Regions from separate parts of the Homo sapiens genome. Here region 1 is linked to region 2. The links are contacts of gene promoters, found by promoter capture Hi-C in blood cells and fetal thymus (Javierre and others, 2016). All regions are on one chromosome and are shown on one strand. Each heading gives the region's core, a stretch centred on a gene start or on the middle of the fragment in contact. The rest is flanking DNA. Distances are from core to core; before and after follow the strand shown.

The links. The method cuts DNA at HindIII sites, captures the fragments that hold promoters and counts their contacts. A CHiCAGO score of 5 or more calls a contact.
Region 1: a contact is called between a fragment that was not itself captured here and the fragment with the promoter of TMEM123 in region 2, in 1 of 17 cell types (monocytes). The highest score is 5.5, in monocytes.

What each region holds. Positions count from the first base shown.
Region 1 is chr11:106,077,765-106,082,875 of GRCh38, forward strand. AASDHPPT (aminoadipate-semialdehyde dehydrogenase-phosphopantetheinyl transferase) reads left to right here. Exons shown (of 6, transcript NM_015423.3): 1 at 1-129; 2 at 1,703-1,928. Among named protein-coding and RNA genes, the nearest start is that of AASDHPPT, 2.7 kb to the left of the region's middle. RefSeq lists an enhancer at 1-165. The HindIII fragment of the contact is 1,784 bases long and covers 1,354-3,137 here.
Region 2 is chr11:102,449,401-102,454,757 of GRCh38, forward strand. TMEM123 (transmembrane protein 123) reads right to left here and starts at 3,365. Exons shown (of 5, transcript NM_052932.3): 1 at 3,124-3,365. The coding sequence starts at 3,223. TMEM123-DT (TMEM123 divergent transcript) reads left to right here and starts at 3,519. Exons shown (of 2, transcript NR_135053.1): 1 at 3,519-3,649. RefSeq lists enhancers at 2,369-2,418, 2,599-2,888, 3,619-3,728 and a silencer at 3,209-3,498. The HindIII fragment of the contact is 13,483 bases long and covers 1-5,357 here.

The DNA of each region.
Region 1 (5,111 bases), core at 996-3,495, 3.6 Mb after region 2:
TGGGCCTTTTCCTGCGGCACTTGGCTGCCGAGCCGAGCCGAATGGCTGCTGGCAGTGCGATCGATTCAGCCCGAGGAGAAGGAGCGCATTGGCCAGTTCGTCTTTGCCCGGGACGCTAAGGCAGCCATGGTACTACAGGTCTTTTTTGGTATTTAGAGCCTAGGAAGCAGATCTTGGGGGAGGCGGGCCGGGCTGTGGAGACCCGACACTCCCGCGCTGGCCGCGACCCTCTCGCTGTGGAGCCTGTGGCCGGCCCGGGCGACAGCAGCCGGCGCTGCGGAGTTGTGGGCGACGCACGGCCTGGTTTCCACGGCCTTTGTAACCGCCTTGGAGGCCGCGATGGCTGTAAACATTATCTCTTTCCCCTTGTTATTTCAAATGGAGACCCTCCTAAACCATGAAATAAGTGTAGGGAAGGCCGACAAAATTGGGTTTTTCTGTAATGAATGTTTTTATGTCTTTATCTTTAAATGTTATTTTTTTTTGTTTGTGTGCGTTCATAGCCTATGCTTATTCTGCCTGTTAAATATCCCATCATTCTCCAAGGACTCCCTGCACGTGGTAGGCCCTAGAAATTATTGACAGTATGATTTAGTTTGTAGCCCTGCGCTCCCCGGGATTGAAGCCAATGAAATTGAAGCCAGAGAGGATACCTTCCTCACTAGATGCCATGGGAAACAGTATTTTACGTAGATTTATTTATTTTAGCTATGTATTTTGAAGCAACAAATGGAAAACTGGATTTCAAAACAAGTAATCTGTACAATATGGTGCAATTTGAAACAACCGTGAATTACCATCATTTAAAAGACAGTCCTTTCTTAAAAATGTCCCATATTGAAACACTTTCTGTTTGAAATGTAGACTAGTTGATAATTTTTAAGGCACATTGGTGAAAATTTTTTACTCATTTGTAAGGAATTGTAAAATAAGCTACATTTAAAAGCCTGCAGTTTTTAAAAGTCAGTGTTAGAATTGAAGAAGAAAAAAACCTGAAAGATATTTTTAAAAATATATACTTTGTCATCTTATATTCTTGTTTTTTTGTGTGTGTGTTTTTAGTAATTATTTAAAAAATAATAATTGGAGGTGGGAGAGAGCAGAACAAGATAGGTCATGCCTTGCTAATTGTTGAAGCTGGGTGATCAATATATGGGATCTAGAAATACATATGCACAGATGTAGGTACAGTAGGGTTGCTCACTGCAGAGTTGTTTTTGACAGCAAGTCTAGAGCCAGCCTAAAATGTCCAATAAAGGGGAAATAATATTATGAAATATGCTACAGTTAAAACTGCATGGACCAGACGTGTGTGTACAGACATAAAATACTTCCCAATACTTATAAATTTAAAGCTTATATGTGGTAGAATACTGCATAAGTATAATCTCATGTTTGTGTTTATATGTAGAGTTAGCAAAAACATGTAAATGCACATATATTTAAATACAGAAAAGACTGACAGGATGCCAGCTGTTAACTTTGGTCACTAGCAAAGGAGAGGGAATTGCTAAGGCGGGCTTTAACTTTTTATCTACTTAAGCATTGCTTAAGTCTTAATTAACGTGTGTTTAATACTTAAGTATTTTGAAAAGTTTTAAAAATGAAAATTTTAGAAACCAAAAAAAAGTACTATTGCATACAGTGTGCTTGTATCTTTAGTAGACATCAGTACATACCAAATGTTTTATGTACTTAACAGGCTGGTCGTCTGATGATAAGGAAATTAGTTGCAGAGAAATTGAATATCCCTTGGAATCATATTCGTTTGCAAAGAACTGCAAAAGGAAAACCAGTTCTTGCAAAGGACTCATCGAATCCTTACCCGAATTTCAACTTTAACATCTCTCATCAAGGAGACTATGCAGTGCTTGCTGCTGAACCTGAGCTGCAAGTTGGAATTGATATAATGAAGACTAGTTTTCCAGGTAACGTTGCATTTTTCTAGTATGGCAGTTAAGTGTCTCGATGCCTCAGTTCTATTGCTATTGAGTAATCTCAGGCCAGGAGATGTATTAGAGATATTTCAGTTTAGGGAAAATGTGCTTAGTACACAAAGGTAATGGAGAGCATAAATCTGAAAAGGGTATATTTCCATGAATATTTACAGACTTACACATAAATAATAGATTATCCGTTACTGGGGATCCATAACTTTGCCTAGAGGTAAAGTGAAATATTAAGTGAAATTTTTTTTGAATTATACTTCAATTTATTTCACTTAAACATTAACCACAATTTTTCAGTTAATTGTTTGTTTTTTAAAAAAGAATCTGAATAGTAAAGTACATTGTAGTCCTTATGTAGAGATAACGTATACAGTTGACACATGAACAACACAAGTTTGAACTGCATGGGTCTACTCATGTGAATTTTTTTCAGTAGTTGGCCCTCTGTCCCCATAGATTCTGCATCCACAATCAAACGTGTATCAAGATTCAGTATTTGCAGGATATGAAACCTGAGGATGTGGAGGGCTGACTTCATATATGCAGGTTCCATAGGGCCGCATGCGCAGATTTTGGTATCTGAGGAGGGTCCTGGAACCAGTCCCCAGTGGATACCAACGGGCGACTCTTTGTTCTGCATCTAAATACATCTCTTTTTAGCCCATTTATGTAAGTAAAAATGAGGAGCAAGCATTATTAAAATATTTAAGTTGCTTATATATTGCCTTAGAAATTTGTTAGTGGTGGCTTTAAGGACCACTAACATTTGTGGTGAAGTTGAATGTACCCAGGCAATTTAATACATACTAAATACAGGTTCTCTTAACTGCTGTATATTTGTCATCATCACTAACATTTAATGAACACTTAACCACGTGTCATGGCATTTTACATAGTGCTTTAGACATATTCTGTGATTTAATTCTCTCAACTACCCTATGATGCATATACTGCTATTTTTAAAGAAAATAAGTAACAGGCTAAGAAGAAAGCTATTAATAAAAGAACCCACATCTTCCTAATTTCATAGTAAAACTATCTAATCTCCATACTGCCTGCACCATATGTGGTTTGAATATGTGGCTCTCTCAGTCTGTAAGGCTTGTATTAATTTTATCTCTCACTCCCATTTCTGCATAGAGAACTCCTATTTACTTGTTAGATTTCACCTTAACCTTACTTTAGGGAAGCTTTGTGAGCCTTCAATCTAAGCTAGGTTCTTTTGTTGTAGGTTCTCATAAAATATATTTTCCTTATTCCAGTAATGTATCTCAGTTGATTATTCATCAGGATGATTGATTATCTTTTCCTGATACTTAAAAGCTGTGTGAGAGCAAGAACCATGTTAGCCACATCAGAGTTTGATCACTATCACATCTCTTAGTACCTTGCCTAGCATGTAATAGTAAAATATTTGTCAAATGAATGAATAAACACTGTGCTGTTAGAGTATAGGCTTCAGTGTGGTTGTGAATCTCTTCTCCCTTTTGCTTTTATTGTCCTTACCTTGCATTTTCCTACTAGCTACTCTTTCTCTTACCTGCTAATAAACCTTTCCAGTACAACTCTATTCTCAGGTTTGTTCAGAACAAGGCCCTACTAGTGATTTTGGAAACCTTATAACAGATTGTTGATCTGATTCCCTGGATAAGATTCCAGGAATTTTGTTTACCTCCTGAAACTGTATGCTACATTTTGTATGATATGCACATGTGCATTTTTCTTGGGAAAGGATCTGGTATTCAACAGGGACATAGGTGGCTTACTCTAAAAAAATTGCTGCTATAGAGGATTCTTAGCATGGGAATTAGCCCATATATTCTTGTAGCTTTCTGCTGTCATTACAGGAACTTTTTCTAAAATCAGAAATGGAAAGGCCATTGTTTTTTAGAATGCAGTCAGCACAACTACCTGGTAATAATTGGCCCAGTGGGTTGGTATCTGCTTGGAAATGATACTTCTGAGAAACAGATTTTGTTACCAGTTAACTTGATGGGCAGTGTTGGCTATGGTCAATGCTAGATAAACAAGTAATTAATAACTGAAGCTTTTAATAAATGATGGTGTTCTCACTCATAGATGGGAATTGAACAATGAGAACACATGGACACAGGAAGGGGAACATCACACTCTGGGGACTGTTGTGGGTGGGGGAAGGGGGGAGGGATAGCATTAGGAGATACACCTAATGCTAAATGATGAGTTAATGGGTGCAGCACACCAGCATGGCACATGTATACATATGTAACTAACCTGCACATTGTGCACATGTACCCTAGAACTTAAAGTATAATAATAATAATAATAAAAAAGAAAAATAAATGATGGAAAGACAATTGAGCAAAAATTTAAGATTTAGTTTTCCTGTTAATTGTGTTATTAGACCTCCCCCCACCAGTTTTTTTTAGTTGATCTTACTTGACTAATCACAATGTCTAGGCCTTTTCCTTTTCTTTATTTTGTTGTGAAAAAGCTGTTGCTATGTCCAGTAACACAGAAAGGAAGAGAGATTTTCCAATTGTCACTAGTGTTGTTACCATGCTACTGATTCCTGAAGCATCAATGGACACAGCATGATTTCTTAATGAAGATGGGAAGTAGACACTGATTTGCTTCATTGGAGATTCTTTGAATTGCTCTACTTATTGTAGTAAGTGAGGAGATTGAGCAAGGGATTTTTCCTAAGAGTCTTGCTAAATGATGCTAGGCAAAACTTAGGAGAGCAGCAAGGAAAGTACTCTGTTTTGTACTAGGCATTGTTACTAGATTGCCAACTCTAAAGACAGAGTTGGCTTTTGGGGGTTATCATTAGTGCATTGAAAGAGTCAATTCCATTACTCTGTCTTGTCCTATAGGTAAGAATCCACTAGGAACTCAGAGAGTCTTTTTCTTTCATGGTGCATTAACCATTTCTGCTGAGTGCAGCTCATTTCCCTCCCTCTACCTGTTCTCCCAACTGTTGCTGTGGACGTGCAGGAGAGAACATACCTAGTATATAGCCTACCATATGCCAGGACGGTACATTCTTACTCTTAGGAAGAATGGTGTTTTCCTGGTCTTCATCTTAATTTATTACCCTCTTTTGGAAAATTTTGGTTGGTTTTCCCTTTGTTTTCTAATTTTTTCTACCATTAAAAGTGTTTGAAGTGATAAGCATAAAGG
Region 2 (5,357 bases), core at 2,115-4,614:
TAAGAGATTTCTATGTCCCAATTAAGCAACTTTTCAGAGTGCTTTATTCGTTTTGAGTCTTTGTCTAATGAAGATTAAATATGTATAACACATAGGGAGAGAGCAAGTGTATTATTGTGTCCTTTTCACAAAGATGAACTCTCCCCCACTTAAAAAAAAATCCTCCAAGTACAAAGAAAAGCAGTAACTTTGAAGGATTTATCTTTACTTCTTGGGCAAATTTCTTCTTTGTGAGAATTTCTTCTTCTTGATGGGACTATCATCTATTTATCACAAAAGGATACAGTGTAAGATTAACTTGAAAAAGATCAAGGTCAACAGACTACGTAGATGTATTTAGCAGCAGATAGCAAACAATTGCCAACATTATTAGGTGCTTACCACAAGCCAGGGTTATGTGCATTAGCTCATCTAACCCTCTCAACAATTCTTAGGAGTATTGTTTTGCAGACAAGAACTGAGGCCCAGAGAAGGCCGCCCAGATACAAAGTGGCAGAGACTGGAATTGGACCAGATAGTTTGATTCCTAAGCCTGCAGATATGAGTGCCAAAATGGAACTACTGATTTTCTACTATAAACCTGCTCCTCCCCCAACCTTCCCAATTGTTGCATTACCAGCTGCTCAACCCCAAAACCAAGAGGTCATCCTTTGATTCTTCTCTCTTCCTCATCCCACCCTCCAATCCATCAGCAAGTGATTAGTCCCAACCCCCCATAGATCTAGAATCCACCCTTTTATCTCCATTGCCACTCACCATCATCTTTTGGCTGGGCTAACACAACAGCCTGTTTTTGTTTCCCTGCTATTGTCGCTCTTAACGCGATGATTTCTTAATTTCTTGGCGACTTATTTGAACACTTGAATACAGCCATTTTCAAGCCACCTCAATCCTTGCACTTTTCAGTTACAAGTCAAAAAAGTCCCTTCTTTCCACAGTTGTTCAAGGTGGGTTTCTGTCACTTGCCACTAAGAGTAATGACTAACAGCCGCCCCTCCCATCCTGTTAATGTTAATGTCATTCATTGGAATACTACAATAAATCCTGTTTGCTGATTTGCAAACTTGCTCATAGTCTCCCTCCTCCTTCAACTGATATTTATAAAGCTATGCAGCTGACTGTGAAGAATATTTTAAAAGCAGAATTTCAATAATGTTTTTATCTTCTCCCACAATATTCTAGGCAATGGTAATACTGTGGAATAAAAGTATTATCTACTTCAAGAGCCATCATCATCTAACGCGGCTTAGTGGTGAAATGGTTAATTGAAAATTTGGATTTTGATCTGAAACCAAACATGTATTAATTGTTTTACTTGCCATAAATTAGCTTACTTATCTATAAAATGGGGACGATACTGTGAGGATTCAATGGGATGATTTATGGACCTAAATTAGCATAGCGTGGGATGCACAGAATATGTACCCAGTAAAAATCAGCCATTAAGAGTTTTAGTATGATGGCTAAAAATCACTATACTTCGTAATGACATTGTATACAGATTACACTATACATGAAGACTACGATTAACAGTTACTAGCTTTTTTGAGAAATCTTCTATTGTATACCTTTTAGTCTAGTTGCAAGGTGACATTATATAGTCTGTAGAAACAGATTCCACCTCTGGTTGGTTATACTAGTTTATGAATTCAGGGCTCGCCTACTGTAGAGCATTTCAAGTTTTGCAAATGGGACTAACCTCTAGTAAGACATTAAGTAATAAACAGAACAAACAGTGCTAAAATAGGGCAAAAAAAATCTGTGTTATCAGGGCAAAAGAAAGAAAAGCATGGTCACTCACAGTTTCTCTAATCGGTAATTCATTGAAACAGTAAGGCTTATCTTCACAAACACAGCAACAAATTTTTAAAAATGGAGACCTCACCTCATGAGATAATTGGTATAAAATTAGGACCAAGATACACGATGGACATGATTTTACCACTTTTTTTCTTAAATGATCTCAAAATTAGGTCTGCGAAGCCAGTTTGTCACACGCACAATTAAGCAAACAAAAAAACTTCAGCAAAACAAAGAAAAATTGTTAATTCACCCAGGTTATTCCAGAAAAAGCAAGTGTTGTGCCTGAACCTTCCAGATTTACAAACTGCCTTTTTCTTTTGCTGGATAAAACGAACCTAAGGCTAACATATACAGTGGATGGATAGAACTTAAAACCATGAAAACCTTGGGTTACTTAACTTATCCTAGTTTACTGACCATTACCTAGGGACCTGACTTCTCTAACAGTTGACAAAGGAAAACAGTATTTACACAACAAATCCCAACTTCCTGGTTTCATCCAAAAAGGGCTGTTTGAAGTCTCCAAAGGGCCAAGGGCCTAAAACGAAACAAATTCCGCCCTACACAGAAAAGCAAAGTCAACATCATCCTGTTACGACCTTACTAGCGACGACAAGGGCCACCGGCGACCGTGCAGCTGTGCCCTTAACGCTGCGCAGCTGCCGCGCGCCTCGGCCGGGTGTTTATGGCACACGAGGGGTGGAGAGCGCCCCGCCATGGGGGCGGCCGCCTCAACTACCGCGAGGGCGGGGCGCGCTCCCCAAAAGCTCCCAACTAGCTCCAAGAGCCCCGAAGTCTAACTTCGAGCGTCAGGGGGACCTAAAGATTGTAATTCATCTGGATAATACTGCATAATATTAGACGCTGAAATGCCTGGGGGACGCTTGAAAAGCTCCCCGACTAACTGGGAGACGTTTCCGCGGGCCTAGGTAGACATATTTTTCAACTCAGCTAATCTTGTTTACAAACGGAAGCCTTAGAAACTCTAACCTCGGCAAACATTAACTTCAGGGAAAGGCTGTAAAAACCAACTTGCGGTAACTCAACAGGTTATGCGCACCCGTCCCGGCCTGCGACCGCCGCATCCAAAAAGCGAGAGGGGAAGCACCAGGCAATTTCCTCAGCAGGCGGCCCCGGGGCCAGCGGGTGACTGGTCCAAACCTCAGTTTCCCCCACCCCGCCCGGTCACCTCTGGGTCCGCCCCGAGCGTTCGGCCAGACACACGCGGAACTTTCTGTACCAGAGCCCAACTTGGGAACCCAAGCCTCGGCAGCGCGCTGCCTCCCACGAACGGGGCTGACGACCCCCGCAGCCACTTACCCGCCATGGCTGCGCTTTCATGGGCGGCCCCCAGCAGCGCTAGCACCTGCAGCGTCCCCAGGAGCAGCGCGGCCCAAGCACCTCGCGCGCCGAGTCCCATTGTTCCGAGGGCAGGATGCGGCAGCCTCGTGGGCTCCCAGCCGAGGTGGCGGCGGCGAGAGCGGCTCCTCTGCGCAGCCGGCGCCGGCTCCGCTTCCCCTTCGGCCGCGCACGTTTCCCCTCCCGCCGCTTGCCCCCCGAATGACCAAATAGGGCGCAGGAGCGGGGCCTGGAGGGGGCGTCGCGTGCGCAGCCGGGGCGGCGGGGCCGGGCTGGGTGGCGCGGGGGCGGGCTCGGGGTTCTGGGCGTGGCGACTCGGCTCGCGGCCTCCCTCGCAGGCGCGCGCTTGGGAACCCCAGAAACCGCGAGCCGTTTCCTTTCTCTTCGGAAATGGCAGTTTTGTTGTCCTGGATGAAGGCGAGCGCCGCTGCCTCCCTGAATGCTGAGCACGCTGGCTTCGCGGTGCCCGGAAGGAAGCCTTTGAAGAGTAGTTTTGCGGGCAGGGAGGGGACAGGGGTGCGTGCGACTCAGAGTGAGAGGGAGGAGTTGCAGGGCAAAGGCGGGAGGAGGGGGAGATTCTGGAGAGGAACTTGAGGGGATGGGATTCACTCTAAGGAGTCCTGGGCGGTCGGAGCTTTCCCCTCGCGTGACCCAGCCTAAGGGGGAAGTGGAGAAAAACAGCTCGACAGATTTGTTGCTTAAATTCAAACGTAAAACACCTACGATCTTCTTATCCCAGTTGTACTTCATCTTCTCCACGGGTTCCCTGTATCTCTGATTAAGACACGAGATTAGTGGAGTGGGCGGGTGGGGGCGCGCGCAGGAGTTGGTAGCAACTCTCAGTGAAATACAGTAGAGCCATGGAAAGCGGGGGCTGCATTAATCCAACCAGCCTTTTCTCTCCTTGTGCCCTGCTGTCCCAGTTCAGATGAAATGGCCAGTTTTGAACAGTTTTTGGCTGAGTTCCTTTTAAACCCTTGGAGCCAATGCTAATCACTTGTCTTGACTTGAAGTGCTTGTAAAGTCTGCATTTTCATCGTGCTCAGAACTCTGAAGTGACATAGCTACCTGTGGCTAATGCATGAGAATAACAAAGGCTGAGTCCTGGCTTGGGTGGGAACCCTCAGCTGAAGTAGAAGACTGAAGGATCCAAGGAACCTAAAATCACAGTGAATCCCCACCTGCAAAGGTCTTAATGTTGCAGATCTTTGGCACCTGAGCCAGATTTCATCACATAAAGGCCACATTGCAGTTAACTTTTGAAAACTGTGTTATGAGAGGTAGAACTTTCTCATGTCAGGCAAATCCATCATTACAGAGGTCTGACTGGTCCTAGAGATTAACTGAGACAATCTGTCCTAAATTTACAGAGACTTCCATCTGTGGATTCAGTCAGCCAACCTGCAAATGTTTCCCCTGCAGCTTATCATGGACAAAAAGCAAGCATTGCACATTTCGATTTTGGTTATTCTATTTAACTGGGGAATCTGGTTTAGGAATAAACCGTTCTGGTGACTACCCCATTATCCAAGCATTTCCCAATCTAGGCCCAACCTGTCTTTCCAGCCTTGGTTCTGTTGCCCATGGAGAAGGGTGCTTTCTGGTTCCTGGCATTTGCATACGTTGTTCTTTCCTTCTGGAATTCTCTTCACCAACCCACAGCTAATACTTCCTTTAAGGCTCAGTGTACTTATAGCCTGGGAATCTGGGGTGGAATAAGAGGTCTGGATGTTTATATCCCCACCACATTCATGTGTTGAAACCTAATCCTCAAGGTGATGATAATAAGATGTGGGACTTGGGTGGGCATAGTGGCTCATGCCTGTAATCCCAGCACTTTGGGAGGCTGAGAAGGGTAGATCGTTTGAGGTCAGGAGTTGAAGACCAGCCTGACCAACATGGTGAAACCCCGCCTCTACTAAAAATACAATTATCTGGGCGTGGTGGGACGTGCCTATAATCCCAGCTACTCGGGAGGCTCCCGAGTAGCTGGGAGGCTGAGGCACAGGAATCGCTTGAACCTGGGAGGTGGAGGTTACAGTGAGCCGAGATCACGCCACTGCACTCCAGCCTGGGAGACAGAGTGAGACTTGTCTCAAGAGAAAAAAAAAAAGATGTGAGGCTTTCCGGAGGTGATTTGGTTGCTAATGAATGGGATTAGTGCCCTTGTAAAGGAGGCCTGAGGGAACTTGTTT